Linked DNA regions of Homo sapiens: all the other regions are linked to region 2. Evidence: promoter capture Hi-C in 16 types of primary human blood cells and fetal thymus (Javierre and others, 2016). All regions are on one chromosome and are shown on one strand. The core of a region is centred on a gene start or on the middle of the fragment in contact, and the rest is flanking DNA. Distances in the headings are between cores, read along the strand shown.

Region 1 (5,024 bases), core at 1,831-4,330, 170 kb after region 2:
AGCGTGAATCACTGCGCTCGGCCAGGAACTTCAACTGTTAATTGAAGCCAAGTGGCCTTAGAGGGTGTTGCAGATGAAGACTTCAAGGAAAATGGAGAAAGTATTATTGGAAACTGGAGGAGAGAAAATTATTGTTATAGTGTCTGAAAGTTTAGCAGCACTGTTATCTGTAGTAATGTGGAAAGTAGAAAATGTACTTAATGGGCTAGGTGATCTTGTTAGGGAGATTTCCAGGCAGAGTATTGGAAGTGCCACTTCACTTCTTCTTGCCTGTTTTAGTAAAATGAGATAGGAGAGAAATAAGCTAAAGGAAGAACTGTTCAACATGAAGGTGCCAGGACTTTCTGGTTCTGAAAATTCCCATTTTCTACAGATGGCAAACAATGCTAAATTTAAGAAATAGTTTCTGGGAAAAGATCAAATCCAGGACAATATCAGGAAAACATAGTCTAATGATGAAGCTAGAGGAGTGATTATAAGCTCTTGTATTATATCTTCAGAAAATGTAAAGGGTGCTTCAGAGAATCATTCATAATAAGGTTCCTAAGAAGTTTAAAGATATTCCTCAGCAGTGTCAGCAGAATGCCAAGGTAGAGACAGGCTTATCTCAAAGAGACTTGTTAAATAGAGCAAACCTCAAAAAGATTCATAGGGGACCCAAAAGGGCTTTACAAGAATTGTATTGGCAGAAGCACTGCTAGTTTGGACTGAAAGAAACAGACACAATACAAAATAAAAAGAAGACTTTGGACTTCTTTTCTATAGGTAAGAAGAAAGCTAAGAAAACCAATCATCTGCTAAGATAAGCCACCTTTCATGAAAAAGAAAAGGTGACTCAGCCCCCAGACAAAGCCAACAGTCCCTAGGGCAGAGCCAAGAGCCAAGGAGAATTATTTCCAGCCCTGAAGTCCTAGTGTAGTAACTTCCAATGTGTGGTCTGCTAGATTTAAGAATTGCTATGTGCTAGTGACTCCTGTGTGCCTCCTTTTATTTTTTTTCTAAACAGGGCCTCACTATGTTGCCCAGGCTGGCCTTGAACTCCTGGACTTAAGTGGTCCTCCTGCCTCTGCCTCTCGAGTAGCTGGGTCTACAGGCACACACCACCACAAACAGCTCTATGTGCCTCTCTTCTCGAATTGGGAATGTCTATAATGGTTATCTTATGCTTCTCACACTGTTGTATGTTGCAGGGTACAGAGATACAGAGATACAGATAACTGCCTCTTTAGTTCACATGTCTTCAGATCAAGCAAAACTATTCTCAAGAGCTGTACTTGAGGAGCCTTACCCTAGAAGCCTCATCTGAACCTGATTTAGATGATGAGATTCTGGACTTTGAGCTTTAATAAGATGAGAATTTTGGAGGCTGTGGGAGGAGGTAAGAGTATTTACATGTGGAAAGGATATAATTTATTGGGGGCCAGAGGGTGAGCTATGATAGACTGCCTCCTACATGGCCCCATATGATATCCCCTCCTGCTATTTACACCTTTATTTAGTCCCTTCCCACATCGAATAGGGAAGACCTGTGTAGCCAGTAGGATATTGTAGAAATGATAGTGTGTGCCTTCTGAAGCTTTAAAGACATTGTGGCTTCTGTCTTGTTCTTTCCAGGATTACTTGCTCTGGAGGAATTCAGCCACCATATTGTGAGGACACTCAAGCAGCCCTGTGGATAAGCCACATGGTGAGGAAGTGAGGCCTCCTGCTAACAGCCAGTCCCAATTCCCCGTCTATGTCAGTGACTCATCCTGGAATCAGAGCCTTTTGGCAGTGGAGCCTATAAATGGCTGCAGCTCTGATCAATAACTTGGCTACAATCTCATGAGAAACCTCAAATCTGAGCCATCCTGCTAAGTAAACCATTCCAGAATTACTGCCCCACAGACACTATGTGAGATAATAAATGTTTATTGTTGCTTTAAGCCACTAAGTTTTTTAATAAACTTTTTTAATAGAGATGAGGTCTTGCTCCATTGCCCAGGCTCATCTCAAACTCCTGAGCTCAAGCCATCCTCCCACCTCAGTCTCCCAAAGTGCTGGGATTACAGGTGAGAGCCACCACACCCAGACTGTTTTTTAATAATTTGTTATGCAGCAATAGATAGGTAATACAAATGGTCATCCATTCTTTATTTAAATCCTTCCAGGATCAGAGAATTCATCTATTCATTCATTCAACAAACAGTTTAATAACTGTTGGTATCTACTCTGTGCTGGCCAAATAGTTACCACCCCTCCCTGTGGGAGCATGGTATCTCCCTAAGCCCATCAAGTCTGAAGACATATTTGATCATGTGATTCTCTGTGGCCAATAAAATGTGAACAGAGGGATATAAGCCACTTCTGAGCAGAGGCTTTAAAGTCATTTCTCAGTTCTGCCATCACTCTTTTTCCTGTGCCTCAAAACCAGCAGTTTCATAGCTGATCTTTCAGCCTGAATCCTAGAATGAAAAAAACATAGAACAGGCTCACACCTACTGCAGGCAATGTGCAACATTAATAAGAACAACCCTTTTTATTATAATTATTATAAGCCACTGAGTTTGGTACCTGTTTGTTACTTGGCATAACCCAGCAAAAGCTGACTGATACAGTCACACTGCATCCAGACCTGGTGGGATGACTTTTTTATCTGAGTCTTCTTTATCCTGGCTTTCCTCCTCAGAATGCTTCCTGGTTCCTAATTGTTTCTCAAAAATGTGCCTCCCAGGAGTCAACATGATGGAGTCTGATCAGCCCAGGGCATGTTGGCCTTCCTTTCCAAGACCTGGCTGTCAAACACTCACAACATGGCTCCTTGAGACTTGGGAAACTTTGTTGCCTGGCAGCCTCACAGCCTGGAACACAGAGCTTCCCACATACAGCTAGAGAAGAATGCCTCCAGGGACCAAAATGACGTCATGAGTCCACATTCTAAAGCTTGAGAACTTGTCCCTGAGGACAGATTTCTAACCTCCTTAGAACCTAATTAGGCTTCCCAACCTGCAATCTAACGAGCTTGGTGATGTGGCTGCCAAGTTTACAGCAGATTCAAAGGTATGAATTAAAGATAAATCAAAATGCCAGGCAACCCAGCAGAATCGACGAAACAAACAAGAGTTGGCTGAGCGCCAAATGGTGTCAGGCACGACCCATCTCACAACCATCTGTAAAATAGGTATTAATGTGCCCATTTTACAGGAAAGGAAACTGAGGCTCAGATAGGTCACTAATTTGACAAAGGTCACAAGCTTGTCAATAAGGATTCAAATGGGCATATGGTAGAGACGATATGAATGGCAGCTCCTGGTGCTGATTTTGGCATTGGTGCTGGTTGAAGGGAAGGCAGAGCCAGCGGGGAGGAAGAAAACCATGAGATGGGAGGGTAGGGGGAGATTTTCAGTGGAACAAGGACCCAAGTGGAGAAGGGATGAGCCCCGGGGTATGGAAGAGTGGGGTACAGGGGAGGAGGGAGCACCTGGGAGCCCAGGGAACCCTGGAAAACCATCCCCACCTCAGAGAGGGCCTTCCTTAGGGCAGGCCATCCCTCGCTGTGCTCCCCAGAAGGCCAAGCCCTAGCCTGGGTGACATGACCTGGCCACTGCACTGCACTGCCTTCCCGGGCTCACACAGCGCCAGGCTCTCACAGGACCATTTGTTGAGCTCTAGGAGTCTGGACCGATTGGCACATATGTATGGACCAGGACAACATCCAGTGCCAGGTTTATTGCTGCCAAGCCAGAATGGAGACTGCTTATGCCCATGGAAATGAACTTGCCAGTGCCGGCCCAGGCACAAGAGCTGGACAACTGCCCCTGGTGGGGGCTGCCCCTTGGAAGAGAGCAGAGGTGCAGCTGGCAGACAGGAGGGCCGAAGAGAGACGGACGGAAGCAGCTAGTGATCCCCTGCTCGGGACCCTGCTTCTGTCCAAGATCGCCTGGGTCCCGTTTCCTCCCGAGGAGGGCACAGAGAGAGCCCCAGGCATTCCTTCACCTGTTCTCTCCAGGGAGGCCCAGAGGCTGCACATTCCCCTCAGGACAGACAAGTGTCCGGCCCAGCACTGCGTGTGGGCACAGACAGGAGGAGGAGTTGGGGCACCAGCATTCTCCATCCAGACACCTGACTAAGACCAGGACCACCTGGCATTTTGGAAACCTTGATGAACACCTTCCCAGGGTTTATCTAAATTATTCTTTTTAACTTTTATTGTGGTGAAATATGTATATCGTAAAATTTATCATTTTAGCCATTCTTAAGTATACAGTCCAGTGACATTAAGTGCATTGTTGTGTGACCATCCCCACCATTCAGCTCCAGAACTTTTTCATCTTCCCAACCAGAACTCCACACTAACCCCCCATTTGCCCCTCCCCCAGCCCCTGGCACCCACCATTCCACTCTCTGACTCTATGCATCTCACTCCAGGTGCCTCCTATAAGTGGAATCCTACAGTATCTGTCCTTTCATAACTGGCTCGTTGCACTTAGCACGAGATCCTGAATGTCTATCCACGCGTAGCATGTGTCAGAATTTCCTTCCTTTTTAAGGCAGAGCAATATTCCACTGTATGGATAGGCCACATTTTGCTTAGCCATTCATCTGTTGATATGGTTTGGCTGTGTCCCCACCCAAATCTCATCGTGAATTGTAGCTCCCATAATTCCCACTTGCGGGAGGGACTCAGTGAGGAAATAGTTGAATCATGGGGGCGGTTTCCTCTGTGCTGTTCTCGTGGTATTGAATAAGTCTCATGAGATCTGATGGTTTTATAAGGGGAAACCCCTTTTGCTTTGTTCTCATTTCTCTCTCTTCCTTGCCGCCACATAAGACATGACTTTGCTCCTCCTTGCCTTCCACCATGATTGTGAGGCCTCCCCAGCCATGTGGAACTGTGAGTCAATTAAACTTCTTTCCTTTATAAGTTAACCAGTCTTAATTAGCTGGGCGTGGTGGCGGGCACCTGTAATCCCAGCTACTCAGGAGGCTGAGGCAGGAGAATTGCTTGAACCCGGGAGGCAGAGGTTGCAGTGAGCCGAGATTGA
Region 2 (5,383 bases), core at 839-3,338:
GAGCTGAGGCGGACACTGAAGCGGCACCTGGGTGAAACCTACATTCTCCACCTACGGAACCCTCCGGAGCACAAGGAGAGTCCCGAGGCCAGAGCCAAAGGGAATGGGCTCCAGTCACCAGGAGCACTCAGGTTGCTGCTGAAGGAAGGCGCATGGCCAAGCCAGTTTTAGCAGTGAATGTTTGCTGGGGAGCAGAAATCCTCTACAACCCCCAGAGTAAAGTTGGTGAACTCGAGGTTCAGAGAAGGTTCCAGACCTCCCTACCTGGCACGGCTGCAGGGTGGCTGGTCCGAGACCCACACCCAGCAAGTAGGGCGCTTTCTAGACTTGGTTTTGTGAGGCTGGTTTGGGGCCAGTCGGCCAGGGTCCTAGGAGAGCAGGGGTTGTGAGGGGAACTGGGACCTGCCTGGACTGGGGGTACTCACCTGTCTGAGGCAGGGCCGCACGCAGCAGCTCCCACCAGAATCCCAGCCAGGTAGATGGACTGGGCCATGGGCTTCAGAGCATGAGAGTCACACACGAGGTTCCACTGATGGGAGAGGAGGAGGCTGAGCTCAGGAGGTTGGGAGAGCCCCAGCAGAGAGGCAGAGGAACCGCATGGGAGGGCCCCCAGGGAGCTGGGTGCGGTGGGTGGTCTGGTGACCTCTAGGGTTTTAGAGCAAGACCCTGTGGAACAGTGAGGGCACCCACAGGCATAGTTTGGCCTTTTGAGGAGTATATCCTGCCACCCTCTGCCTGAACTCTTCCATGGCTCCCTATTGCCCAATGGGTCTCTAGCCACATCTGCCCCTCTCTCCTGTCTCTCCACTTGGAAGCAGCCACCCAAGCTGACACCCTCACCCCTCTCCCAGAGGTTGCTTCCCTCCTGTTCTTTATAAAGAGGTTCTTCCCACTTGTTGGGATGAGCTGCCCCTCTCTGCTTGCCTGGCTTTGCCTGGCGCCCCATCTGGGAGGCAGCCTGGGGTAATCCCTTACTCTGTGTGCTTTGGTCTCGGGGAATCCAGTGAATTGTCACTGAGTCCCCCTGCTGCTGAGTTGCCTGGAGTCACGGCTGACAGGTCAGCAGGGCCAGGACAGGGTGAGGCCGGTGAGTGTCCAGGTGCCAGCATTTAGAGGTGCCCGCCCAGGTGCCCCCCGCACCTCCAAGAGCCTGGGCTGGCCCCATTTGTAGACTGATCCCTGCCGCCCACTTCCCTGTGTGTGGCTGACGAGGGGCTGAGAGGCTCGAGAGTGAGTGGGGCCTGGGGAGGTGGGTCCCTCCCAGGACTGGACCTTTGAGTCTGACCCACCGTGATCCATGACTGACCTCCAAGGTGGTGGGACTCGAGTGGCTCTGGGGGAGGCCCTACCTTGGCCACGATTGTGGAGGTGAAGATGCTGCGGTCATAGACCCAGCCATCCACACACGGCTCCGTGTCGGCCTCGCTCCAGCTGGTGGCCGTGGCATTGGGGTCCAAGAGCTGCCACTGTGGCTGGCGGAAGCGGCGGCACTGGTGGGGCCTCTGGTTGGGGCCCGGCGGGATGGAAATAGCCAGGAGGGCCTCAGGACTCAAGCTCCCTAGGATGCTGGCCTGAGCCGTGCTGTTGTCCAGGAGGGGTGCCCAGCAGCGGTGGCTGGGCACGGCGGCCGAGAAGTTCTCCAGCATGCTCTGGGTACACAGCCACATGATGGAGACCATCAGAGCCATCGTCTGGAGAACCTGGAACCTGCCCAGGCCACCCACGAGGTCCAGGAGTTCAGAAAATGCCATGGAACCTACTCAAGGGGCCCAGAAGAGGGGCCCACTTCACAAAGGCTGGCCCAGGGCAAAGAGGCCAGGGCAACGGGCCTGTTTCCCCCACGGTGGTGCCCACAGTGGCTTCTCCAGCCCAGCGGCTAGGCTTCACAGACTCGGGGCCGGAGGCTCAGGCTCTCTGGTCATCTGCCTGCTGGTGTCACTTGGGGTGGCTCCAACTGGGCCCTGAGGCCGCGTGAGGTGATTCCGAGACCTCCAGCATCTCCCCAGAGAGGCAGCTGCTCCAGACCTCCCGGGAAAGCTGAATTTGGAAAGTAGGGAATGTGGAGACTGAAGACTTTAATTTTAGACTGGAATTAAAGTGTGACCGGTGACACTTATGGAATCGAGTTTAGCAATCATTTCCTTGGTCAAAGTTTAACCCGCGTTGAGGCAGGCACAGACGCGAGGGAGGTGCAGCCTCCTCTGCTTGGGGGCCAGGGCCGGCCTGCTCTGTGCCAGGTCTTGGGGAGGCCTAAGTTTTTCTCCTGGCGGCTGTGGGATGCCAGGGCTGCCTGCTCCCTTCGGTGCCCCTGTGTGCCCACCTCCCAGAGTGGCTGAGCCAAGAGAAGGTGGGCCAGGGGATCCCCCTAATTTGGGGCTGGGGCAGCTGTGCAAGTCTCTGTGTGGGCTTGGGTCACTGGCAGCTGCCCAGCCCCTGCGCCTCCCAGGCTGTGTGGCCTGGCCCCACCCGTGGCTCCTGCCTCCACTCACCTGCTGTGGTTGGCGTCCTGTGCCCGCTTTGCTGTTACCCTGTCCTGAGTCCTCGGTGGAGCTTCCCAGCATCAACAGACACCCCACAGACTCCCCAGGTTCGGTGTGCCCAATGCCACCCTGAGATCTCTGTCCCCTCCCCAAATCTATGCCTCCTGCAGAGCCCCACCTCAGCTATGGCCTCTCATGTCACAGTGTCTGGCCTGGAACCCAGCGTCTTGGTTCACGCCTCCTGCTCCCTGCCTCCCAAATCCACCAGGGGCCAAGCCTGGCTAGTTTTGCCTCCTAAGGATTTCTCTCTCCCACCTCCCCCACTCCACAGCTGTCCCTGCCCTTGTCTTTCTGCCTCAACTCCTGCCCCTGGACCCACCACGCACTGCGAGCCCTTGGGTCAAATCCTGCTTAAAAGCCAAGGGGCTCCCAGTCAACAACAGCTAGTGGTGACTTACTAGGGCAGGTGAGTGGACAGCAGTGTGTGCTGATGCAGGGTGTGGGGTTCAGGAAAGGCTGGACCGAGGCCAAGAGAACCCCCTTGGTCTCGATAGCTAATTCTGTAGGCGAAAGGGCCAGAGAACACAAAGCAGTTAAAAAGTGTGTGTGCATGGCCGGGCGTGGTGGCTCATGCCTGTAATCCCAGCACTTTGGGAGGCCGAGGTGGGGGGATCACTTGAGGTCAAGAGTTCAAGACCAGCTTGGCCAACATGGCAAAAACCCATCTCTACTAAAAATACAAAAGTTAGCTGAGCATGGTCGTGGTGCACAGCTGTAATTCCAGCTACTTGGGAGGCTGAGGCAGGAGAATCTCTTGAACCCAGGAGGCAGAGGTTGCAGCAAGCTGAGATTGCACCACTGCCCTCCAGCCTGGTTGACAGAGAAAGACTCTTATCTCAAAAAAAAAAAAAAAAAGAAAAGAAAAAAAAGAAGTGTATGTATATGTGGGTGTGTGCACATGTCTGTGTATGTGTGCACATGTGTTTGCACAAGTGCATGTGTGTACATGTGTGCATGCGTATATGTGCAGTGCAGCAGTGATGGCAACCCAGGTGTTTGCTCTTATGAGCTTTGGGCATAAAACTCTCCATTTGAGGCATAAATGCCCCTCCCATCTGCTTCTTTTTGCTTCACCGACTCTTCCCGCTGCCCCTCCACATGGCTTACCAAGCCAACTTCTTTGCCTCCCTGGGCTCTGCACCTTGAGTCATCCACTGCTTCCACCACATGCCCTGTACATGCTTTCTCAGTTCCCACCCTTGCTTATGTTGGACCTCCAGCCTGGAATGCTGTCTCCAGGCTCACCCTTAGGCCACATACTGTGTGGAATGGGCACAGTCCAAATACTCCTCCTCCAGCGGGCTCTCTTCACTTATTCCTGCCTACAACTAGGGCTCAGAGTTGTCAGTGGAATCTCATCTTTACACTGTCCTGCATTCTTCTCAAACTCCTGACCTCAGGTGATCTGCCTGCCTTGGCCTCCCAAAGTGGTGTGAGTTGCGGCACCCAGCCATGACCTGCATTCTTCTATTATGGTCCAGTTGGTCTTATTTCCAGTGAGCTCCTGGTAGTCTGGAACCCTTCTTTAGAGGCTCTTTGGAACTGATTTGGACAACAAATAAAGGTTCCATGGAGACTTGCTGAAGTGCATGGATGATTTTTTTAAAAATTTCATTTATTTTCTAATTATGAAATAATTTACACACTTCCTCAAAAATTCAGAACATATTGAAATGAAAATAAAGATCCCTCATATACTCATCAACCAGTGAGTTACACTACTGTTTACAGTTTGGTGTAAATATGTGCAGACTTTGTTTTAGTAACTGATATGTTTAGCTTCATCAGCTTGAGCTGCCAAATAAGCTTTACATTTCCTTTTGTAAAATCCAAAAGAAATACCTCTGCCTTTTAATTAGCGATTTTAACCTGTTCACATTTATTGTAATTATTGACATGTTTGGACTTACTGTATGTTTTCTTGTTTACCACATTTTCCCTTTAAATCTTGGTTTCCTTGTTCCTAATTTCTACTGAATCCATTAAGTTTTCTTGTTATATTCTTCTACTGTCTTGGTCTGTCAGTTGTACGTTTTATTTCTGTTACCCTTATATTTGAACACACAAACCAGGGGTTATTTGATACCATCTTCTCTCTTCAAACCTACCACCTTCTCTTCTATCCTCTCTCTCAATAGATGACCTTTTTTCTTATTTCACTAAAACAATAGAAGCCATCAGAAGCCAACAGTCTAATTCTCTCACCAGCTCACCTGCCTTGGTGCCCCCACATTCTGCCTTCCTTCCACCCAGTTTGGTTTCTCTCTCATCCATGCCAACCCCTCACTGTGTGCCTAGAGCCCACCCCCCTTTGCCTGCTCACATCTCTCTTTGGCATTTGTCTTTCCCTCGCTACTGGATAATTTCCACCAATGTACAAATATGCCATTTTTTTCTGTAGCCTTCCAAAAACTCCCCCTCCATTTGAGCCCCTCTTTCTTCTTAAGCGACTGCCCCACCTTTGCTTGTATTTACAACAAAATTCTATGAAAGTATTATTGACACTCATTTCCAGTTTCTGTCTTCCCATTTTTTTGTTTGTTTTTGGATTCATTCCCATCAAGGTTTTGCCCCTATCACTCTGCTGTCACCAATGACCTCCATGCTGCTAGATTCAATGACATTTTCAGTCCTCATCTTACTTGAGCCATCTGTCTCTGATCTCCATCTGAGAATACTTTCTTCCCTGGGCCTCCAGGACTCACTAGTTCTCAATCTTCTTGGTTGGGTTTTCCTCTTCTCCACACACTGTTAACATTGGAGGCCACTGAGCTCACTCCTTGGTCTTCTCTATATTCTCTATCATCTGGTCCATTCACATCTTTAGCCTGTACCTCTTCTTG
Region 3 (5,024 bases), core at 2,435-4,934, 230 kb after region 2:
TATAAAAATTAGCCAGTCGTGGTGGCCTGTGCCTGTAATCCCAGCTACTTGGGAGGCTGAGGCAGGAAAATCGCTTGAACCCCTGAGGTGGAGGTTGCACTGAGCCGAGATCGTGCCACTGCACTCCAGCCCAGAAGACAAAGTGAAACTCCGTCTAAAAAATAAGAATCAGGTAGTTGTGAGGGTGAAATGAGTTCATGTCCGCAAAGGGCCGACACACAGTAGGTATTGACTGTTACAAAGTCCTGCTGGGCGATGACGCTGGCCAGGCCCAGCCCCTGAGTCAGTGCATTCTCGCATGGCCAGATTCACTCTGCACTGCACTCTAACATGTGTGTGCTCCTAACAAGTGAGCAAACACCCATGTGTGCTGATCAACCGTCCATCTGAATGACAGGCACACAGACTGTACAGGGACGGGGACAAAGAACAAAATGCCTGGGTGGGTGCTAAAAGCCATAAGTGTGGGTTTCCGTACTGATTTGGACCAGCAGGAGATCTATCTAGACCCAAGGTCTATTCCCAACTCGGCACCATTTACTGTGCCGTCGGGGGCAGGTCACCTGCCTTCTCTGGGTCTGTCCAGTGAAAGGACCGACCAATCCATTCTCAAATCCCTGACAGCCCCAACAGCCAATGAACCTAGAATCCTTTCTTTCAGGAACACATCTGCCAAGTTTCAGTGGGGATGGATGTGAAGAGAAACCTAGCTGACACACACTTGCTTTCTTTCTCTGGGGGGATTTCCAAATAAAGTGAAACTGGCCAGGCACAACCTCAACCTGGAACAGCAGCCCCACCTGGGTATGCACCAGGAGGTATGGGGCCCTGAGTCAGCCTCACCTGGAAGAAGGGATGGTTCCGGACTTCTTGTGCCCCCTGGGGCCCCGCGCCCAATCGCTTCTTAGGATCCTTACAAAGCAGCCGCTGCAGCAGGTCCTGCGCCACGGGCCCGATCCGAGGGGGGAAGGGAGGGGAGCACTTCAGGATCCGTCTGGGAGGATTGGGGGGGTGTCAGGGGCAGCAAGCCCCCCACCCACAGCCCTGCCCAGGCAGGCCCTGCAGCCCTCTGGCCGCCCTCCACGTCCAGCCCTACTCACCGAGACACCTCAGCCTGCGTGTTCCTCTCGCCCTCCAGGGTGAAGGGCGAGGCCCCCGTCAGCAGCTCGAAGAGCAAGATGCCCAGGCTCCACCAGTCCACAGCCTGCCGGGTGGAGCCGGGGTGAGGGCCTGCATCTCCCCTGCCTCACACCCCACCTTTCCACCTCCCCCAGCCCCACTTCCCTGCCAACCTACCTTGCCATGCCCCGTCTTGCTACGGATGATTTCGGGGGCCATGTACTCGATGGTGCCACAGAAGGAGAAGGTCCGCTCTTTCTGGGAGGGCAAGAGGTCCTGCTTAGATGTCGAAACCTCTCCTGTGCCCCAGTGCCCCACAAGGCCCAGAGTAAGACTCGCTCAACTTGTGAGGTTGGAGAGCTGAGCTGTGGAAACTTCTTGGAGCTATTCACTTCTGCAGCCCCAGAATGCAGGCCCAGAGCAGGAAGAGGCAGGAAGGAGAAGGATTGAATGGGGCACTGCAGGCAGAGGTGGCCTCCACTCACCTCCTCCGTCAGGAACTCCTTGCTCAGCCCGAAGTCCGTGAGGACAATGTGGCCCTCGGAGTCCAGCAGCACATTCTCCAGTTTCAGGTCTCGGTAAATGATGCCGAGCTGGTAGGAGCAAGAGGGGTGCTGAGGCTTCCTCCCCGAAACCCTCCCCAGCTCCTCCAGCTCCTGGCCCTGCTCAGGATAAGGAGACCCCCCAGAGAAAGTCATCTGCCTGTAGAGGGGGTCTCCAGGGCAGAGCCACTGAATAAGAAAGGCCATTTAAGATATAAAACAAAGAAGGAGGGCCCCGTGGATCAGGCCCCAAGGTCCCAGAGAGAGGAAAGTCTGTGTGAAGAGCTCCATTTCAAGGAGGCCTTAGGAGCCAGGCCGTGAGGTTTCCATTTGAGGAAGTTCTGTGAACGCAGCCCCGAGTTCCCTGAAAGAGGAAAGCCCCTTCGAGGAGGTGCCAGGGGAGGGGACCCCACCAGGCAACGTTGAGGCTTCCTGCAAGGGGTCCAGGGGAAGCAGCTCCAATTCCCACCCAGCTCACCACTGGCCCCCCAGGAAGCCCAGGGGGAAGCCTGAGGCTGCCCTGCGTGCAGATTCCTTCCAAGGCACAGACCCAGTTTCCATAGCAACAGCCTGCGGCCAGGTCTTCACCCACCTTGTGCAGGTGTTCCAGGGCCAGCACGATCTCACCCCCATACACGCGCACCTCAGCCTCCTTGAAGTACTGGCGCTGGTAGAGGTGGGTGAACATCTCCCCGCCGCTCACATAGTCTGGGAGGTGCAGTGGAAGTCAGGAAGCAGCCCCGTCAGGTGGCCTCGCCTGCCCCCAGCCACCCCAACCCCGTTGGGATGTGGTGTGCGCTCACCCAGGATGAGGTGCAGCTTGGCATCCGTCTGGAAAGCGTAGTGCAGCGTGACCAGGAAGGGCGCCTGGCGCACCAGCTCCAGCACCGAGCGCTCGGTGCGCGTGTGCTCTTGCGTCTTGGCGCGCTGCACCAGCGCCGCCTTGCGCAGCACCTTCATGGCGTACAGCTTCCCCGCGTCGTGCCCGCCCGCCTTCCGCACCAGGAACACCTTGCCGTAGGCTGTGGGAGCAGCGAGTGGGTGGAGGGTGGGCTGTGAGCGGGAGATTGGTGCAGGCTTGGGGGGTGGGGGCGATGCCAACCCAGGAGGGTGTGCAAATGAGGCGAAGGAGCTGGGGCAACAGGCAGGTGTGCAAAAAGCTGGCAGAGCCTTCTAAGGAAAGGGTGTGCACACCCCGGGAGGGTGCCCAGCAAAACCAGGGAAAGGATGTGCAAACCAGGCTGGGGAGCATGCATCTCCAGGGGGCCTGCTGCGAGGCATGGGGGCGGGGCATATGCAAACCTGCGAGAGATCAGATGGATGTGAAAAGATGCCAGTGCAAGGAAGGGAGGCAGAGGTGTGCACCTGGCTGGGGAAGGGATGCGCAAACCAGCGCTGGGGCATTTGCAAAATGTGGGAGGGGGATCCCATATTGGAAGAAAGGGAGGAGCTATGCAAATCACTTGAGAGGGGCGCCAGTCCCCCTCCCCAGGGTGTTGGCAAATCCAGGGGGGTATGCACGCACAGGACCGTGGAGGGAGGAGTGATGTCAATGTGGAGTGCCCTGGAAGTGGGCATGCAAACTCTGGCGAGGCAGGGCGGGGCAGGCAAGGCAGGCTGTGCCGGGAAAGGGTGGGGGGCCTGCTCAGTGGCCTGGCCCAGGCCCAAGAGTGAGCAGGCAGGAGGTCAGGGGCACCGCGCCTGGGACGCCTGCCCGGTGGATGGGGGTCCTCACCTCCCGTGCCCAGCACCTTGAGCAGCTCGAAGTTCTCCACGCTCACCTTCTCCTCGTGCCCGGTCAGGTTGGCTGTGGGCACAGGGGGCGAATGAGCCCAGCCGGTCCATGACCCGTCCCGGCCTGCCCCGGGCAGCCGCAGTCAGGCCCCACACCCACCTTCTGTGATCCGCAGCTCCACGGCGCAGCTCTCATCGTCGTCCTCGTCCCCCATGGCGGGCGGGTCGCTGGGGCCCGCGCGGCTCGGGCTCCGGGCGGCGCCGGTTACATGGCGGCTCCGGCCGGGGCGGGCGCTTCCTGGTGCCGCCTCCGGGGCCGAGGCGGGCGCCGGCACCGCCTCCCGGCTCCCCGCCCTGCGCGGCCTGAGTCAGGCGGCTGGAACGTGACAGCGCCGGGCTGCCGGTGGGCGGCCGGCTGGGGCCGCCCTGTCTCCCGAGCCCCCAGGCCAGGCCTCAGGGCCGTGCGCTCCGGGACCTTACTCGACTCTCCCGGGAACTGGAAACACCCCGTGGGAGCCATCCCTGAGCCCGTGGGTAACCTGGAGCCTCTGGGGCATTAGTCCCCAAGCCAGGAATCTGCCCGGGAATGCCGGCTGCAGCCAGTGGCTGGAGGACATTAGGAGTCTGTGCCCCAAGGTGGGGGACGAGGTGCCTGGTGCTGGGCAGGCTGAGAGGGGGTCTGGATCCTGGAAGTCACCCAACTCTCAGGCAGTGGAGCCCACCCCACTCCATCGTCCTGGGGGTGGCCAGCAGGGCCCCTCTCCCCAGAGGACTGGCCTTTGCAAGGAGGAGCCTCATCACCAAGAGGGGGCTGGAGCCCGGCCTGGGACCCCATGGCAAGGAGAGGAGTGGCCAGTTTTCTGACCAGCTTTCTGTCGGGGGTGCCTGCAGAAGCACTTCAGCCCCCAGTCACCGTGCAGAGCCCACCAGGTGCCATGCGCACCTCACGTGTTCTGCTCCTGTTGTCTCCTAGCCTGGTGCAGTACCCAGCTTAGAGCCCTGAGCAGGCCTCAAGAAGAGATGTCAGTGCCACACGGGGCTGCCCCCTCTCCCCATGAGGCCCAGGGCCCCTGCTGACTGGTCCTCCTGAGCCCCTGCTCCGTCTTCTTCCTGCCTTTCCCTTCCTGACCACCAATGGGGCCACCTAGCAGAGTGGGACAGCCATGAGGCCCCACACCCTGAGGCCGGTGGGAGGGGCTCTCAGCTCCTCTGCCAGCTGGAGAGGCCAGGGTGTCCACCCCACGCCCCTGTCCTGTGAAGCCCTGGCTGAGAGGAGGAGGAACTCAAGCTGCTGCAGGTCACACCTGGGAGGCCGGACGGACCGTCCCTCCCAGCTCTGCACCCCCCAAGTTCAGGCTGCCTTATCTCAGCCCTGGGCAGCTCCACCCTCCCCTGGGTGGCCCCAGGTACCCTGACTCACATCCTGCACCCCAGCCGAATTGCCCCGCCTCTCAGGCATCAGGCTAGAGGCCCTGGTCAGAGAGCCAGCGTCCCTCCCACCTCTCCTGGCAACCCCTGGCATTAAGTGATGCCCCGCCAGGCTGAGAACTCCCTGGGGAGGGGGCTCAACCTCAAGGAGGGAGGGGAGATGAGTAGGAGGAGGATGTGAACAGAGAGAAGACAGTGCCC
Region 4 (5,002 bases), core at 1,838-4,337, 140 kb after region 2:
GTTTTGAGATGGAGTCTCGCTCTGTGGCCCAGCCTGGAGTGCAGTAGCACAATCTCGGCTCACTGCAACCTCCACCTCTCAGGTTCAAGCAATTCTCCTGCCTCAGCCTCCCGAGTAGCTGAGATTACAGGAATGCGTCACCATGCCTGGCTAATTTTTGTATTTTTAGTAAAGACAGGGTTTCACCACGTTGGCCATGCTGGTCTTGAACTCCTGACCTCAGTGATCAGCCCACCTCGGCCTCCCAAAGTGCTGGGATGACAGGCGTCAGCCACCGAGCCCGGCCTAAACTTCCAGTCTTGCTCCTTCTAGATCCCTGACCCACCAGCTAAGCCACTGTCCACTGTCCACAAGCCCATGTACATTCTTTCCTCAAGCCACTTCTCTCTTTGCACAAGTGCACACACCAGGTGCACTGCCGACGGCCTGCCGCTGTCTTTGAGGGCCTCCCTGGGAGGGCTGTGGTGCAGCAGCCACACGCGTTCAGCTCGCAGGAACACGTCCGCTGGGGTGAGACTGCAGCCTATCTCCGCTGGTCACAGGAAAACCCCCCAGGATGTGAGCTGAGGGGAGGCCTTGGTGCCGCATGGCCAGAGGCAGGGGGTCTGGACCACGTAGCTCCTGCCTTGGGGACCTTTGGGAGCCCAATCCCTGATGTGCCACTTGTGCCTCATGACGGATGCCTGGCCTTGTGATTTGGTGACTCGTCAGCTCATGGTGAAAAGCTGTGTCCACTTGATCACTTGATGTCCCCTGGTCAGATGCTCAGTTTCTCCCAGGGCTTGGGGACACATCCAGAGCCCTTCTCTGCTGCAGATGGCGTGGCGTTGTTCCAGCACCCTCGGGGTCTGCACTGTGGCTTTCCTATTGGGGCCTGCCAGGGACACCGTGTGGTGACCCTCTCCACTACAGACACCCCGTGTAGCACAGGGTCTGCAGAGTCACATGTCCCAAGCACACTTGCTCATAGAACTGCATCTCCAAACTAGCAGCCTTCTGTGTCACTCAAGAAATGGGCCAAAACTGGATTCCCAAGTGCTGAGTATGCCACCCCCAAATTCAAAGAGTCCCGCCAGAAGTCGTGCCTCCTTCCACGTGGTAGGAAGGACAGGTGCAGTAACCACCCTTTACTTTGCAGGAGATAGCCCGACATGGCCAGACCACTGGCCCCGTCAAACCCCTACAGCATGGCAGCCCCTGAGCCTTCCCATTAACCCCCCATCCTCCTCCCCCACATATTCTACGAAAGCTTCCAAGGGACCTGCTGCTTCTTGCTCTGTAGGTCTGGTTAACACGATGTTGCTCCTGGCACTGACCAATGTGGTGGCCTGGAGGCTGCCCCGATGGGCTGGATCCCTTCAGACTATGTTGTGATAGAGAACAGGAAAATTGACGTAGCCCTGGGGTAAGGCCGTGAATGTACACAGCTGCATCCTATAGATCCGTGATGACCTTACCCAGCTCCAGCAAAGATGCTCCATTTCTCAGAGAAGATGCACTCACGGGCCAGGCACGGTGGCTCATGCCCATAATCCCAGCATTTTGGGAGGACAAGACAGGAGAATCACTTGAGCCCAGGAGTTCAGTAGGGAGACGCTATCTCTACAAAAAATACAAAAATTAGCCAAGCATGCTAGTGTACACCTGTAGTCCCAGCTACTCGGGAGGCTGAGGCAGGAGGATCTATTAAGCCCAGGAGGTCAGGGCTGCAGTGACCCAGGATTGTGCAGCTGCACTCCAGTAGCCTGGGTAACACAGCAATACCCTGTCTCTGGAAAAAAAAAAAAAAAAGATACACTTGGGGAGAACACTCTGTTAAATTCGTGGTTCTCCAATAATGCCACAATGCATCAATGCACATGGTTTTTGCAGGGGCCACACTGGTGTGCTCAATAGAGTTATGACAAAGACCCTCCTTCTGCATTCTTTTTTTTTTTTTTTTGAGACGGAGTCTCGCTCTGTCGCCCAGTCTAGAGTACAGTGGCGCGATCTTGGCTCACTGCAAGCTCCGCCTCCCAGGTTCACGCCATTCTCCTGCCTCAGCCTCCCAAGTAGCTGGGACTACAGGTGCCCGCCACCACGCCCAGCTAATTTTTTTGTATTTTTAGTAGAGACAGGGTTTCACCGTGTTAGCCAGGATGATCTTGATCTCATGATCTGCCCGCCTCGGCCTCCCAAAGAGCTGGGATTACAGGCGTGAGCCACGGTGCCCAGCCTCTTCTGCATTCTTAAGTCTCTGAAGATGGCACTAATCTCTGTCCTTCCTCCACAAATGCAATATTGACTGTGTCGTATTCTGGGGCAGTGGGGAGGGGGATGCAGGAGAAAGGCAGTTTCAGGGGCTTCCATCGGGCCTAACGCTACAGCTCACACGCTATAGGTCAAGGAACCAACATGAAGGTTCTCCCACCTGCCAGGAATTTCTACTCCATTTACACATTCAGGAGCTGGGGGAATGACCACATGGTACGTCTCTGGACACACCGGAGGCCTATTGTGAGATGGACCTAGGCCAGGACTCCATTTATTACCTGGTTCCTATTACATCTTTACTCTATGGTTAACATGACAGCCTTTGGGTCCCTGGGTGTCAATGTCAATCTGAACCCTATATCCAAAAGTCCCTGAAAGATCTGGGAAACCCCCTTGTGGCAGCCCTGGAGATGCCACTCAGCACCCCCTTGCCACAGGGCAGTGAGCTGACAGCCTCCACAATGGGTGACAGTGTTTGAGCCAAGGTCATGCTGCCCCAGGCAGCTCCCAGCCAGTGCCTACCTGCAGCAGGGGTAGGAGACCCTGGCATTCCTTCCCAACGTGGGACTCCTCTTTGAGCAATCTTGGTTCCAGAGCCCCTGCTGGGCTGGCCAGACTCCCTCCAAGCTGCACTGCAGTCCAAGGCTTTTCCTACCCAATCCTCCTTCCTTCCTCATCTCCTCTCACAGGTGTCAGACCCTCCTCAGAGCCTGAAAGTCCCCAGCCCCCTCCTGCCCCCTCCTTTACCTGTCACAGGTACTACCTCCATAAATCCCCTGCTTTTCTAACTCCATCCACCCAATTCCCACAGGACCAGAGCTGGCCATGCCCTCTTCCCAGTGTACGGCTGCTGGAGAAAATGGCTAAGTTCCCTGTTATGTGTTGGATCATGCCTCCACCATTCCCCCGGTACTGGGGAAATCCTGATCCCCAGGACCGTGAATGAGACCTTATTTGGAAATAGAGTCTTTGCAGATGATCAAGCTAAGATGAGGTTATTAGGATAGGCCCTAATTCATTACGACTGTGTCCTTATAAAAAGGGGAAATTGGAGGTGGGAGGATCCCTTGAGGCCAGGAGTTTGAGACCAGCCTGGGCAACACAGCAAGACCCCATCTCTAAAAATTTCTAAAATTAGGCTGTCGTGGTGGTGCACAACTATAGTCCAGCTATTCAGCAGGCTGAGACGGGAGGATCGCTTGAGCCCAGGAAGTCGAGGCTGCAGTAAGCCATGATCGTGCCACTGCACTCCATCCTGGAGTGTAGACAGAGTGAGACCCTGTCTCAAAAAACAAAAAATGGGTGGGGCAAGGAGAGAATTTGGACGCAGAGACAAGTAAGCACATGGGCAGAACATCACGGGAAGATGAAGGCAGAGGTCGGGGTGATGCATCTCTAAACCAGGGAGCGCCTAAGACTGCCAGGGAGCTAGAAGAGAGGCAGCGCAGACACCCCTCACGGCCCTCGGAGGGAGCCAGCCCTGCTGATGCCTCAATTTTGGACTTCCAGTCTCCAGAACTGTGGGAGACAATGCATTTTTTTTTTTTTTTTTGAGACAGAGCCTCGGTCTGTCGCCCAGGCTGGAGTGCAGTGGCACGATCTTGGCTCACCACAAGATCTGCCTTCCAGGTTCACACCATTCTCCTGCCTCAGCCTCCTGAGTAGCTGGTACTGCAGGCGCCCACCACCACGCCTGGCTAATTTTTTTTTTTTTTGTATTTTTAGTAGAGACGGGGTTTCACCGTGTTAGCCAGGATGGTCTCGATCTCCTGACCTTGTGATCCGCCCACCTTGGCCTCCCAAAGTGCTGGATTACAGGCGTGAGCCACCGTGCCTGGCCAGGACAATGCATTTCTATTGTTTAAGCCACCCAGTCTGGGGCAGGTTTTTACAGCAGCCCCAGGAAACCGATACAGTCCTGGGGGATGGTATGGCTGCGGGGTCCTTCCTCTTGGGACCTGCCCCTCTTCCACTGATGGATTCTGAGATTGAGAACAAGTTCAGATTTGGAAACAGCAGGGGATCATTCCTTTCTGTTGGGGCATCCGGCCTTGGACTTCTGCTCATCGATTCTTGGTTGCTTTTCATTCTATTTGTTGAACAAAATCCTTGCCGGCTGCCTAGACACCTTCCCCCTGGAAATGCTATGTCCTATGAGCCATCTCCATAGGCTGGGCAGGGCAGGCTCCCCCGCGGCTGTCCCAACCCTGCTGTCCATTCTGATCCTCTCACCCCCTTGCTTGTGACAGACAGTTAAGTGCTGCCCTTTGACCTGTGCTACTCGGGAATCCAGTTGTCCCTGTGGCTATGGGAGAGCTCAGATCCATGGCAGCCCACCCCTGCCAGGCCCGGGCAACCCTCACAGGGCTGCTCAGCAACGCCAATGTCTCCTCGACAGCTCAGGCCTTATCATTTGGGTAAAGAGCTGGAACCTTCCAAAGAACATGGCCAGCTGGTGGGTTTTCCACCCTGTTTCGTGGTGAACAGGTCTGTGCAAATCTACCTGCAAAGGCCGAGGGAGCTGAGAGGCTGAAGAAAGAGGCTGACAAATCCAGTTTCTTGTAAAGAAATATTTAATAGGGACTTAGGAGCAGAAGCGATGTTCCGGGCTGCCACAAAATGGTAGATCCCCACATCTGCCCTGCAGAAAGTACTTTTATGTAGCAAGCTTTTAGGGTAAAACATGTGCAGGTGGCCATATCTCCGATTTTAATGCAAAACTCATAGCCACTTGGGGAGGGGGTTAGCT
Region 5 (4,955 bases), core at 2,120-4,619, 210 kb after region 2:
GCCCAGGCTGGAGTGCAGTGGCACGATCTCGGCTCATTGCAACCTCCACCTCCCAAGTTCAAGTGATTCTCCTGCCTCAGCCTCCAGAGTAGCTGGGATTACAGGCATGCACCACTATGCCTGGCTAATTTTTGTATTTTTGGTAGAGACAGGATTACACATGTTAACCAGGCTGGTATGGAACACCTGGCCTCAAGCGATCCGCCCACCTTGGCCTCCCAAAATGCCAGGATTACAGGCATAAGCCACTGCACCTGGCCAGCCATACTTTCTACAGAGCTAATAAAACTAAGAGGATAGGGGCCCAAACTAATCTCCCTCCTGGATGCTTGTGGAGAATAATACAACAGTGATTATGACATCAAAAAAGAGGAGGCAAAGTGTCAGATGTTCTCAGCCCATTCTACACCTGGGATGCAGCACTGTTTTGTGGTGCTTACCTTAACAAATCTGCTATCATATTCCGCTGCTGACAGCCGGTGGTCTACTGGGACCTCAGCGTCTTCATCTCTTGAGTGTTCACACAATTGATTCCTCCTCACCCATCTTTCATTTGTGTTCTTTGCTTTTCTCCTTGAAACAGTTTAATTTCATGGGCTGCATGATGATGTTTTGGACAGTGTGGGACCATATATTCCATGGTGGTCCTATAGGATTATAATGGAGGCTGGGTGTGGTGGCTCACACCTATAGTCCTGGCACTTTGGGAAGCTGAGGTGGCCAGATCACTTCAGGCCAGGAGTTCGATACCAGCCTGGCTAACATGGTTGGGACTTGGGAGGCCAAAGCAGGAGGATTGCTTGAAGCGAGGAGTTTGACTACAGCCTGGGCAACATAGCAAGAGGTTGTCTGTATGCTTTTATTTTTTGAAAGAAAGGAAGGAAGGAAGGAAGGAAGGAAGGAAGGGAGGGAGGGAGGGAGGGAGGGAGGGAGGGAGGGAGGGAGGGAAAGAAAGAAAGAAAGAAAGAAAAGAAAAATAACAAAAATAAAAGATTATAAGGGAGCTGAAAAATTTTTCTCATCTAGTGATGTCATTCATAGCCATCATATCATCATAGTGCAATGTGCCACCTTTTCTATGATTAGATACATTTAGATACGCAAATACCATTCTATTCCAATTGCCTCTGCTACTCAGCACTTCCTGCCATACAGGCTTGTGGTGTGGGAGCAATCAGCTGTACCATCTAGCCTAGCTGTGTTGCGGGCTACCCATCCAGGTTTGTGTAAGTGCACTCTGATGTTCACACAGTGATGAAATCACCTAACAATGCATTTCTCAGAACGTGTCCCCATGGCTAAGTGACTCATGGCTGTATTCTGGAATCTTGTCATTCCAGACCACAGTCTTCACATTGAGGTACCAAGTTGTGGATCAGAATGGAAAGCTAGGCTATGATGAGGGACAGTGCGCTGTCACATGACTGACATGATTTATTTCACAAAGACAGCAAATGGAGCTGCCATGCCACCTCCAGCAAAGAGAGCCCGGGGCTGGCGTCTATGGAGCTCTAGGCTCTGCAGAGTCGGAGCGAGAACCAGATCCTTGGGGCAAAGAGAGCTAAAACGGATTGCAGAGGAAAGCGAACCACCACACATCTGCTAGAAAGAAATATCTCTTAGGCAGGAGATAACCTTGAGAGGCAGCATAACCGCTCAACCACTGTGGTTAAGGGCTTAGTTCTCAAGTAGGGAGGCCCAGGCTCTAGGGCCAATGCCTGTGGATGCCTTTGTGTGACCTTGGACAATTTACTTTCTCTCTCCAAGCCTCATTTTCTTCATCCACAACATGGAAACAATTGCAGATGATGATAATGTAGAACCTGTTCATGAAAGGAAATTATAGACAGTGCTGGGCCCGGTGCCTGGCTCCTGGTACAGAGAAGGATTCAGTAATAACATTGGCCATGACTATTAACAACAGCAGCAGCAGGGATCCTATGTGTGACCTTCTACCTGTGTGGCACAGGGCCTGGCACATCATGAGGCTCAATAAATGGGCTCAACGTCATCGCTACTCTTGTTGTTATTAAAGGAAATAGCCAGAAAGTGCTTCCTCTTTCCACAGGCAACCACGGACACTTTCTCTGGACTTGACTCACTCAGGCAAGAAGAACCTTCCGGGCTGAGCTTCCAAGCCCCAGCCAGGGGAGATGCAGGGCACGGAAGACCCCGCTGAGGCAGATTGGAGAGCTCGGAGCTGCAGAGTCTGTTTGGCATCTGCAACTCTCTCGGTGGAGAAACGCCTGCCCCCGCTAAGCAGTCAGTGCCTGCCTGGTCTCACTGGCTCCCAGGCAGCTTCTCCCCACCTCCCCTCTGTGTCCAGTGTGCTCCCGGCAGCCTGCCTTATGACAGGTCTACAGGGACATCTGTTGGTGAGCAGGCCCTGCCAGATACCTGTTGACCCCCGCTGGGCAGGAAAAATAACACAGAGAGGCTCTGAGGACCTGTGAATGGTGTGGTGGGAGTGGGGGACATAGCAGACACCCCTTACTCTGTAGAATACCAGCTTTCCACTAAAGTGGGTGATGGCAGGGAATTCTGGCAGAGAATACTGGTTTCTGAGAGCTCCTAGTATAAAATTGGATCTGTGTCCCTATGGAAAATTCCACATTACAGCAAGTGTGGCCCAGGGAGGGAGAAAGCCTCAGCTGGGCATCACGGGAATTGGTTTTGCCAGTCGGCAGCCCTGTGGCTCTGGCTAAGTCCCTTCCCCTCTGTGCCTCGGTCTCCCCATTAGGAAAGTTCAGGAGGTTCATGAGATGAGATCTGTGGCTCCATAGCTTGAATATACACCATGGAAGGTTGCTTTTTGGTTGTTTTTGAGACAGAGTCTTGCTCTGCCACCCAGGCTGAAGTGCAGTGGTACAATCATAGTGCACTGTAACTTTGAACTCCTGGCCTCAAGCAATCCTCCTGCCTCAGCCTCCCAAAGTACTGGGATTACAGGAATGAGTCACTGCACATGACCCTGGGAAGCTTTTTAAAAAGCAGATTCCCAGACTGCACTCCCTGAAATTCTGATTCAGCCGGTTACAGGGGGCCCAGAAACCTGCCTGAGGCTCCTCCCAGAGGACCCCACTCCCTGGCTGCCTCTCAACCTGCAGTTTCAGGCATCCCAGGGTGTCCCACTGTCTCCCAGGCCCCAGGGAGAATCAGAAAGAGTGGGGGCACCGCAGGGAGCAGGCAGGAGGGAGGGGTCACAGAGGCCCTGGCCTGGTGACTGCTGTCTTCAAACCGCCCAGAGCAAACCCACAGAGCTGGCCCGCGCCCCGCCCACCTTCGGTCCAGTGTTATGGGGGAAGCTGTCAGACGCCAGCATCAGTGTGAGGTGCACTTATGGAAACTGCCCTCCCTGACTTTCCCGCTGAAAAGTCCTTAGCTCTGAGGTTTTCAGGAATCTGAAAGGAAAGGCTTCTTTCCATGAAAATGTGCTGAAAGACCACTTCACACCTGCACCTACGCGCCGTCCTGTGGGAGCCAGCCTGAGTCGGCCTGGCTTGAATGGCAACAACCTCCATGCCTCACTCATCCCAGGGGCCCTCCTGCCCTCTGCCTAGGAGGTGTTCCAAGTGCTTGGCATGCATTACTTGACCTTATCTTTGCAATGCCACGAGGCGGCCAACATTATTGCCTCATTTCGTGGATAAGGTTACTAAGGCACAGAGAGGGTCGGTAATTTGCCCAAGGTCACTTAGCTAGGAATTGATGGAGATGGGTTTCACACTCCTTCAGGGAAACTCCTGAAGCTAAGCTTTGAGACCCGCTTCATCTTCTAGCTTAGAGATATAGTCACTACTATTTTCAGCAGAGCCCTTTCCAAACAGAATCTTATATTTGACCCCAGCATAAGAAACACATCAAAGCAAAGCCACTCTGGTTGAAGCGGAGGGACTATCCAGCCATCCAGCCTCCCCTTACCCTGCTCATGGAGACCTCCTCAGAGCACCAGGGTTCTGCAGAACTGAATCTAAGAGTCAATAAAGAAGCCATGGCTCAGAGAGGGAGTGTGCCTTGCCCAAGGCCACACAGCCTGCAGGTGGCAGAGCTGTTGTGACACATGCAGCATCCAGAGAAACACGGGATGTGCAGGGCAGCCTGAGAAAGGGGCCCTGCACACCTGGCCAGCCCACCCTGAGCACCTAGATGGGGAGAGGAGAGCAGTGATGGTCTGGGTTGACCCCAGGCAGGGGGCTTAACTGGGGTTGCTAGGGAATGGCTGAATCTACAAGTATATTCACTTGTTCACTCAACAAACATCGCCAGAGTACCTACTATGTGCCAGGGATGATGTGGCACCAAGGATACAATGGTGAATGATGAGGACAGTCTCGTCCCTCCCCGCCATGCTCATATCCCAGGCAGAGAGACTGATAATTAAACAATGACAACAGGCCAGGTGTGGTAGCTTATGCCTGTAATCCCAGCACTTTGGGAGCCCGAGGTGGGTGGATCACCTGAGGTTAGGAGTTCGAGACCAGCCTGGCCAACATGGTGAAACCCCATCTCTACTAAAAACACAAAAATTAGCTGGGCGTGGTGGTGGACACCTGTAGTCCCAGCTACCTGGGAGACTGAGGCAGAAGAATCGCTTGAACCTGGGAGGCGGAGGTTGCCATGAGCTGAGATCATGCCACTGCACTCCCGCCTGGGCGTCAGAGCGAGACCTTGTCTCCAAAAAAAGAAAAGACAATGACAGCAACACACAGGGACGGCTGCTTCGGTGGGAACTGCTGCCTACTGACGGCACAAAGAGTCGGGGCTTGTAGGCTAGTGGAGGGGTCAGGAGGGGCTGCTCTGAGAAATAAAGCCATCCGAGCATTGACGGATGACATGGCATCAGCCTGGCCAAGAGAAGGGGAAAGCGTGCCCCACAGAGGGAACAGCAAGTGCAAAGGATGAGCACAATGCATTTGAGGACCTGGAAGAGGTTTGATTTGGCCAGAGCAGAGCCC

What was found. The method cuts DNA at HindIII sites, captures the fragments that hold promoters and counts their contacts. A CHiCAGO score of 5 or more calls a contact.
Region 1: a fragment that was not itself captured here is called in contact with the fragment with the promoter of SLC22A12 in region 2 in 1 of 17 cell types (M1 macrophages); the score reaches 6.2 in M1 macrophages.
Region 3: the fragment with the promoter of RPS6KA4 here is called in contact with the fragment with the promoter of SLC22A12 in region 2 in 2 of 17 cell types (M0 macrophages and monocytes); the score reaches 7.0 in M0 macrophages.
Region 4: a fragment that was not itself captured here is called in contact with the fragment with the promoter of SLC22A12 in region 2 in 1 of 17 cell types (M0 macrophages); the score reaches 5.4 in M0 macrophages.
Region 5: a fragment that was not itself captured here is called in contact with the fragment with the promoter of SLC22A12 in region 2 in 2 of 17 cell types (M1 macrophages and M0 macrophages); the score reaches 7.1 in M1 macrophages.

The regions. Positions count from the first base shown.
Region 1 is chr11:64,418,152-64,423,175 of GRCh38, reverse strand. LOC105369341 (a long non-coding RNA gene) reads left to right here and starts at 2,961. Exons shown (of 4, transcript XR_001748069.2): 1 at 2,961-3,039; 2 at 4,811-4,873. It overlaps LOC124902689 (a long non-coding RNA gene), which reads right to left. Exons shown (of 2, transcript XR_007062720.1): 1 at 2,554-5,024; 2 at 2,106-2,444. The HindIII fragment of the contact is 311 bases long and covers 2,925-3,235 here.
Region 2 is chr11:64,587,925-64,593,307 of GRCh38, reverse strand. It overlaps SLC22A12 (solute carrier family 22 member 12), which reads right to left and starts at 2,088. Exons shown (of 10, transcript NM_144585.4): 1 at 1,350-2,088; 2 at 426-529. The coding sequence starts at 1,751. The HindIII fragment of the contact is 38,603 bases long and covers 1-4,348 here.
Region 3 is chr11:64,357,822-64,362,845 of GRCh38, reverse strand. RPS6KA4 (ribosomal protein S6 kinase A4) reads right to left here and starts at 3,684. Exons shown (of 17, transcript NM_003942.3): 1 at 3,556-3,684; 2 at 3,397-3,468; 3 at 2,465-2,683; 4 at 2,254-2,369; 5 at 1,605-1,712; 6 at 1,297-1,377; 7 at 1,101-1,204; 8 at 844-994. The coding sequence starts at 3,610. RefSeq lists enhancers at 2,289-2,398, 3,132-3,659 and a silencer at 3,409-3,898. The HindIII fragment of the contact is 11,991 bases long and covers 1-5,024 here.
Region 4 is chr11:64,451,464-64,456,465 of GRCh38, reverse strand. It overlaps LINC02724 (long intergenic non-protein coding RNA 2724), which reads right to left. Exons shown (of 2, transcript NR_073177.1): 2 at 4,809-5,002. Among named protein-coding and RNA genes, the nearest start is that of LINC02724, 4.9 kb to the right of the region's middle. The HindIII fragment of the contact is 3,672 bases long and covers 1,252-4,923 here.
Region 5 is chr11:64,382,851-64,387,805 of GRCh38, reverse strand. It overlaps LOC124902688 (a long non-coding RNA gene), which reads right to left and starts at 699. Exons shown (of 2, transcript XR_007062718.1): 1 at 441-699. The HindIII fragment of the contact is 775 bases long and covers 2,982-3,756 here.